Regions from separate parts of the Homo sapiens genome. Here all the other regions are linked to region 3. Evidence: promoter capture Hi-C in human tissues and cell types (Jung and others, 2019). All regions are on one chromosome and are shown on one strand. The core of a region is centred on a gene start or on the middle of the fragment in contact, and the rest is flanking DNA. Distances in the headings are between cores, read along the strand shown.

The links. The method cuts DNA at HindIII sites, captures the fragments that hold promoters and counts their contacts. A contact is called where the count stands out against the background at its distance.
Region 1: a fragment that was not itself captured here is called in contact with the fragment with the promoter of OR1K1 in region 3 in 2 of the 25 tissues and cell types used here (dorsolateral prefrontal cortex and hippocampus).
Region 2: a contact is called between a fragment that was not itself captured here and the fragment with the promoter of OR1K1 in region 3, in 1 of the 25 tissues and cell types used here (IMR-90 fibroblasts).

Annotation. Positions count from the first base shown.
Region 1 is chr9:122,284,996-122,287,695 of GRCh38, forward strand. MRRF (mitochondrial ribosome recycling factor) reads left to right here. Exons shown (of 7, transcript NM_138777.5): 4 at 174-292. Among named protein-coding and RNA genes, the nearest start is that of MRRF, 21 kb to the left of the region's middle. The HindIII fragment of the contact is 3,862 bases long and covers 1-2,700 here.
Region 2 is chr9:122,247,037-122,249,736 of GRCh38, forward strand. It overlaps RBM18 (RNA binding motif protein 18), which reads right to left. Exons shown (of 6, transcript NM_033117.4): 4 at 482-568. Among named protein-coding and RNA genes, the nearest start is that of RBM18, 16 kb to the right of the region's middle. The HindIII fragment of the contact is 4,196 bases long and covers 1-2,700 here.
Region 3 is chr9:122,798,762-122,801,461 of GRCh38, forward strand. OR1K1 (olfactory receptor family 1 subfamily K member 1) reads left to right here and starts at 1,362. Exons shown (of 1, transcript NM_080859.1): 1 at 1,362-2,312. The coding sequence starts at 1,362. The coding sequence ends at 2,312. The HindIII fragment of the contact is 19,122 bases long and covers 1-2,700 here.

The DNA of each region.
Region 1 (2,700 bases), core at 96-2,595, 510 kb before region 3:
GCGCAGGTTGGTCTCAAACTACTGCCCTCAAGCATTCCTCCCACTTCACTCCCAAAGCTCTGGGATAACAGGCATGAGCCACTGCATCCAACCTGAATCTGAATTAGATAGGACTTAGATTTGGGGCTACTAAGGTTCTTTGGAATTCTAAAACTCTGTAATTTTTCTTTTAGGATCCCTTGACAAGATTGCTGTGGTAACTGCTGACGGGAAGCTTGCTTTAAACCAGATTAGCCAGATCTCCATGAAGTCGCCACAGCTGATTTTGGTGAATATGGCCAGCTTCCCAGAGGTAAGATGGCCTTGCTAAAATCTCTCTCCGTGGTCTCTTTTGGAATGGAGGAGACTGGGTCATATCAGGAGGAAGTGTTCCTTCAGCTTAGGATGAAACAAGAGAGAAGACATAATAAAGAGAACTTAAGGATAAGGCAAAGCTCTTTTCCTGTTGCCAGATTCCTTTTCTGTTAAACTCAGATGCTACAGAGGCTAGGTAAGTTGTTTGAATACCCAAACGGGTCCCATCTAAGAAAAACAATACTGGAGATGCAGTGATTGGTGCTTGGCCAGCGTGAAAAGGCTCTGGTGAGCTGGAGAGCCTGTACCTTGTGTGAGTGGAATGCCTCTGCCCAGCTCCTGCTGATCATTGCCAGGCACAATGTAGGCCTGGTAATCAGTGTTACCTGATACTACGATTTTTATTTCCAGAAGAAGCTAGTAACACAAATTTTTATGTGACATCTTTATTCTGTAAATGTTGATGACTAATTGAGTTTTTTTTTTAAAGACTATGAAGCAAATAAAACAATACTTTAATGGGCCAAATGTGGCCTGAGGGCCACCAATTTGTGACCTCTGCATTAGTATTTGGAGCAGACCCTCCAGGAAGTCCTTTTATACTAGACTGACCATTGCAGAATATTGCATGGAGCACAGTGCTTCCAAAACTGGAAGGTGGGTTGTATTAGGTCATTGCATCTTTGAAGCTTTATGATTTTAAGTGTAGTTGAAGAAGGTAATTGGGCTTTTTGTTATTGGTCCACTAGGAATTGGCCTGGATTAGGAGTCTTAGAGTACCTGGAATCCGGTCCCATCTCTACCACCAACTGGCTGTTTGACCTTGGGCAAGTTGCTTCACTCTCTGGGCCTCCATTTCCTCATCTGCTAATATAAGGTGAAGGAATCCTCCTGTTCTTATTGTCTATTTCAGTAGTTGTATTCCAAAGTCATAGACCAAGGTTGGACCTGTTGTATTTGACAAACTAGGCTAGAGATAGGAGAAAGGGAAAGCCCTTGCTGTGAACACACTGTTTCAAATCAAAGGGCTCTGATAGCTAATGGGCCAGGCACACCTGTGGGTGTGCTGTTACCACTCCCCTACTCCATTCTCCATACTATAACCAGAATGAGTTTTTGAAAAATATATATTGTGCCAGGCGTGGTGGCTCATGCCTGTAATCCCAGCACTTTGGGAGGTTAAGGTTAGAGGATCACTTGAAGCCAGGAGTTCAAGACCAGCCAGGGCAACATAGTGAAACCCTGGCTCTACAAAAATTTCAAAAATAAAAAAATTAGTGAGGTGTGATGGCACACACCTGTAGTGCTAGCTACTCAGGAAACTGCAGTGGAAGGACCGCTTGAGTCCGGGAGTTTGAAGCTGCAGTGAGCTATGATCATGCCACTGCACTGCAGCCTGGGTGACAGAGCAAGACCTTGTATCTTAAATAAACAAGGAAAAAAAAATATATGTATAAAAGATTTTGTCAGTTGTCATTCCCATGCTTTGCCTTTATTGGTGGCTTCTAGCAATCTTTAAGAAACAGTCCAAAATCCTCACTGTGGCCAAGAAACAGTCCAAAATCTTCATTATGGCCTAGATGGCTTTGCTTGATCTTGCCTCTGTTTTTTCAGTTTTGCCAGTCTTGTGCCACTGTCATCCTTGTACAATGCTTTAGCCACATTGGTCTTTCAGTTCCTCAAACACACCAAACCCTTTGCATCCTTAGAGCCTTTGCATATCCTGTTCCCATTGCATGGAACACTGTTGCATGGCTAATTGCTACTTATATTTTGGATCATGGCTTAAACGTCACTTTCTTAAGGAAGCCTTTCCTGACCTCTCCAATCTAAATTATTCTTCCACACTAAGTTCTCCTATACAGCACAATTCTTTTTCTTTATTGCACTTATTACTAGTGTACATTTGTGTACACATTTATTTTTCATCTCACTTTTACTAGAGTGTAAGCTTGGAATGTAGGAATGTCTAATTTGCTCATTGTGTCCAACACCAAACAGTGCCTGGCACATGGCACCATTTGGTAAATTTTCCTTGAATGGATGAATACCTGTTATTAGGTTGATAAAAGGGAGGCACTCATTTCTGATGTTAGTGAGGAACAGAGAAATTGATGAAAAGGGAACTGTCAACTGTTTCTCTTTCTGGGCCCCTCTGAACCACTGAGGCCTCTCCTCCTTGTTCATCTAATCCCGTAGGCACTGTGGGCCAATTTAGGGAATAGCCTCCTAATTACACAGCTTGAAGACCTCATCAGGCAGATTGCTTTTCAGAGCCAGCCACTTCTTTTATTAAATAGCAAATGGCATTCACAGAAGAAGCACCTGATTGGCCACCAGAGCATCTTATGAAGCAGGAGGAGATATTAACAGCTTAATTTTTTCTTAGGAAGTTGGGGTATATCT
Region 2 (2,700 bases), core at 47-2,546, 550 kb before region 3:
CCACACCCTAGTAACTCCCAAGATTTCTGGAGTAAGGAGATGCCAGTGCTTTAAGCACTCACAGAAACTACCCATGTCTCAAGCGTTTAGAATAAACAAATTCAAATCTCCACAGAGTCAAAGGCTGGGAAGAGTCTAATAATGCCTAGAGCAACTGATTTTAAAAATAAATATATATTTTCCTCCAAAGAACCCTCCACCCGAAGAAATGACAGAGGTCTGAGCGTACACATTAGCCACATGAGAAAATCAAAACCAGGATCAGTGGGCATGTGGAGAGAAATAACCAAGGAACTTAATCCCTCCCGAGATGTTTTCAAAAGAAAAATCGGGCAACACACATGGTAGATACAAGTAGGAGACTGAAGTATGGCTGTTTCAGGTGTGAAGAGATTGGGACATAAACGGGTAAGTGGACAACCATCTTTCAGAAGGCTTGTTTAGGATGAGGCTTGATGTCTTTCTAGCCTCTCAGACGTACCTTTACTTGAGCATGTGCCCATCGCACCACCAGCTTCTTGGACAGGGCCAACTTGCCATTGAGACACTGGATGGCTTGCTCTGCTTCCTGTCCAGGAAAGGGACAAATGTTAGTTAAAAACTGAAATGCTTAACTAGCTATATGTATTCTCACAGGGCTTCACTAGCTTTGATGGCTGAGTTTCTAACAAATTGTTTTTGGTAAATAACTGGCAAGGGTTTACAATTTTACAAGGCAGAATTTTAAAAAGGGCATGGTTTTTTTGTTGTTTTTTTTTTTTTTTTGAGATGGAGTCTTGCTCTGTCGCCAGGCTCTGGAGTGCAGTGGTGCAATACCGGCTCACTGCAATCTCCGCCTCCCAGGTTCAAGCGCTTCCCCTGCCTCAGCCTCCCGAATAGCTGGGACTACAGGCATGAACCACCACGCCTGGCTAATTTTTTTGTATTTTTTAGTAGAGACGGGGTTTCACCATGTTGGCCAGGACTGTCTCAATCTCCCAACTTAATGATCCGCCCCCTCGGCTTCCCAAAGTGCTGGGATTACAGGCGTGAGCTACTGCGCCTGGCTAAGGGCGTGAATTTTTTAAAGTCAGACAAAAATTCAAATCCTGGTCTGCCATTTGCTGGCAGTATGCTATTTGGCAGGTCACTTAAGTGTCTCTAGCTTTGTCAACTGTAAAATACAGATAAATAATGTATAATCTTTAATAGATAATATGGATACTTATTCCTCAGTGGTTGTGAGGACTCAAAGAATGTAAAGCATGAAGTATATGATATGCACTTAACATATGTTAGTAATAGTGCTGTTCCTATTAGGTGATAGACATATATGCACTTCCGTTAGGTAGGGTAGCACCTCCTATGTCAAGAAACTGTACTCCCCGCAAGGGCCCTGGAACCATATCCTGGACTAGGGCATACTCCCTGGATTCATAGTGAGGAATAATTGCTTTAAAGGGCATGGGAGTCAAGGAAACTAGGCCGGAAAAAGCAGGAGTGAGTCAAAGAGACCGTTAGCAAGGTATCTGTGTGAGTCAATCTATGCACCTGGTTTTCAGAGCCGAAAGTTCCTTGACCCTTTCCCCATCAGACAGAGGAGTAATACGGTTGAAAGGAATTCCTGAAGCTGGCTAACAGTCACTCTAGGTCATTCCCAGGAAACCTGGCTGTACTTTCCATCCTGCCAAACCTTCTTTGCCCCATTTGCATCCATGAGGCATTCAGCCAAGTGTAACCCATGTTTAGTGAGGGTGAAGAAGCCCTTAAGGAACAGAGGAGGAACAGGATGTCCCAGGGAGCGGGAGAGGCTATAGAAGCCAGTTGGCATTCCAGTCTGGTTTTACTGGTGATTCTCTTGTTCCTCCAGAACCTACCAGTATGACATTTAACAAATATTTACTGAGTTCTCACTGTGTAGTAGGCATTGGATATTCACTAATCATCCTTGCCCCACTACAGCACACAAAGCTAGAGTGACAGGTAAGAAATATTTTATTCCTTTAAGCTTCATTTGGTGAATGAGAACTCATAGAGCACTCTATTAGTTCCAAAGTAGGAGCAGTAATAAGCTGCCAGCAGGGGCATCTTATTTTTAAATGTTTTTTTTAAAATAATTTCCTACCTGTACAAATTATTTCAAAGTTCATATATTTAAAAATATTATTAAATGTCTACTTTTTTTTTATACTTTCATCTATTCTCCCAACTTCCCATAAGGTAAGAAGGATATGTATTTTTAATCTCCATTCTTAGATGGAAAATTGAGGCCAAAAGAAGTTAGGAGACTTGCTCAAAGTTAATAAATAAAAGAGCCAGAAATATAAACTAGGCTTTGTATCCTAACCCAGTGTTTTTAAACCAACATCTATGCCCAACATGATCACTGATTTTAGTTGTCTGCAACAATTCCCAGGCCGGGCATGGTGGCTCACGCCTGTAATTTCAGCACTTTGGGAGGCCGAAGCAGGCTGGTTGCTTGAGCCCAGGAGTTTGATCAGCCTGACAACATGGCGAACCCCCGCTTCTACAAAAAATACAAAAATTAGCTGGGGTAGTGGTGTGTGCCTGTGGTCCCAACTACTTGGGAGGCTGAGGTGGGAGAACTGCTTGAATCCAGGAAGTTGAGGCTGCACTAAGCTGTGATCGTGCCACTATACTCCGGCCTGGATGACAAAGAGAGACCCTGTCTCAAAAAAAAAAACAACAACAAAAAGAATT
Region 3 (2,700 bases), core at 112-2,611:
TGTGTGTGAGATGGAGTCTCACTGTGCCACCCAGGCTGGAGTGCAGTGGCACGATCTTGGCTCACTGCAACCTCTGCCTCCTGGGTTCAAGATATTCTCCTGCCCCAGCCTCCCAAGTAGCTGGGATTACAGGCACGTGACACCACACCTGGCTAATTTTTGTATTTTTTTTTTTAGTAGAGATGGGGTTTCACCACATTGGCCAGGCTGGTCTCAAACTCCTGACCTCAGGTGATCCTCCTACCTTGGCCTCCCAAAGTGCTGGGATTACAGGCACGAGCCACTGCACCCGGCCTTGTTTTGTGTTTTAAGTCTGAAAATATCTGTATTCTTTACTCACACTTGAGTAGTATTTTTGCTGAGTGAAGAATTCCAAGTTCGAAATGCTTTTTTTCAGAATTTGAATATTGTTAAACTGTTCTATAATCTACTGTTGAATTGAAACATTTGATGGCAATCTAATTACATGGATATCATCAGTTCATTGCACCCCATGCCCTTAGGAAGTACTGGAGTCTCCTCTTCATTTCCAGTGTTCTAAAATTCCACTATTTGTGTCTAGGTGTTGTGAGTTCATATTCATTTCAATGTAAACATATGTGCTCTTCAGATTTTTTTTCTAGAGTTTCTTTCTTATGTTTCTCTCCTCCATCTTGGTTTGGTTTCATTTTTTCTTTTCCAAAATAAATGTCCATTGGCCAGATCTTTCTGTGTCGAACCTCACTCTGTTTCATCTTTTCTTTCATATTTTCCTCCTTCCCTGATCTACATCTTGTGCAATATCTTTTGTTCTATTTTTGCTTAAATCACAAACTATCAAAGTTGGACGTGACCTTGCAGATGAGTTACTTCAATTCTCTTATTTCGCAGGTTGAAAGTCTAAGGCCCCACAAGGTCAGGAGATCGAGAACATCCTGGCTAACACGGTGAAACCCCGTCTCTACTAAAAAATACAAAAAAAATTAGCCGGGCGTGATGGCGGGCGCCTGTAGTCCCAGCTACTCGGGAGGCTGAGGCAGGAGAATGGCGTGAACCCAGGAGGTGGAGCTTGCAGTGAGCTGAGATCGTGCCACTGCACTCCAGCCTGGGCGACAGAGCAAGACTCCATCTCAAAAAAAAAAAAAAAAAAAGAAAAGAAAATCTAAGGCCCAGAAAGGAAGAAGGTTCAGGGAGGTGAAATGACTTGCCCATAGTCATACCTGTGCCTAGGGCCAGGGCTACCTGACTCTAAACTCTTGATATTTTCCCATGGCCAGGAAGCCTTGAACAATTTATCCCCTCACCTTTTCCGTTAGACATCGGGGAGGTGACCCATCAATAGAAAGGAGCCCTTCAGGTTCCAGGCGAATAACCAGCCTGCCATGGAGGCTGCCAATGAGTCTTCAGAGGGAATCTCATTCGTTTTATTGGGACTGACAACAAGTCCTGGACAGCAGCGGCCTCTCTTTGTGCTGTTCTTGCTCTTGTATGTGGCCAGCCTCCTGGGTAATGGACTCATTGTGGCTGCCATCCAGGCCAGTCCAGCCCTTCATGCACCCATGTACTTCCTGCTGGCCCACCTGTCCTTTGCTGACCTCTGCTTCGCCTCCGTCACTGTGCCCAAGATGTTGGCCAACTTGTTGGCCCATGACCACTCCATCTCGCTGGCTGGCTGCCTGACCCAAATGTACTTCTTCTTTGCCCTGGGGGTAACTGATAGCTGTCTTCTGGCGGCCATGGCCTATGACTGCTACGTGGCCATCCGGCACCCCCTCCCCTATGCCACGAGGATGTCCCGGGCCATGTGCGCAGCCCTGGTGGGAATGGCATGGCTGGTGTCCCACGTCCACTCCCTCCTGTATATCCTGCTCATGGCTCGCTTGTCCTTCTGTGCTTCCCACCAAGTGCCCCACTTCTTCTGTGACCACCAGCCTCTCTTAAGGCTCTCGTGCTCTGACACCCACCACATCCAGCTGCTCATCTTCACCGAGGGCGCCGCAGTGGTGGTCACTCCCTTCCTGCTCATCCTCGCCTCCTATGGGGCCATCGCAGCTGCCGTGCTCCAGCTGCCCTCAGCCTCTGGGAGGCTCCGGGCTGTGTCCACCTGTGGCTCCCACCTGGCTGTGGTGAGCCTCTTCTATGGGACAGTCATTGCAGTCTACTTCCAGGCCACATCCCGACGCGAGGCAGAGTGGGGCCGTGTGGCCACTGTCATGTACACTGTAGTCACCCCCATGCTGAACCCCATCATCTACAGCCTCTGGAATCGCGATGTACAGGGGGCACTCCGAGCCCTTCTCATTGGGCGAAGGATCTCAGCTAGTGACTCCTGAGGGCAGGACCCCACTGAGGACAGACTGCATCACCCACACTGGCAACTGTTGAACGTGACCCTCTGTCCTCTGCTATGCTCAAAAATCATAACAGCTGTCATTTCCTGAGCACCTGCCCGGAAGCAGATCCTTGCCTGATCTCATTTTATTCCCACAGCCACCCAGGATGCAGATATTATGATCCGGTTTTACACACAAGAAAATTTGTCTTTAGGCTCAAAGATAAGAAGTGACTTTCCAGCCAGGCACAGCGGCTCACGCCTGTAATCCCAGCACTTTGAGAAGCCGAGGTGGTGGATCACCTGAGGTCGAGAGTTCAAGATCAGCCTGGCCAACATGGCGAAACCCTGTCTCTATTACAAATACCAAAATTAGCCAAGCATGGCGG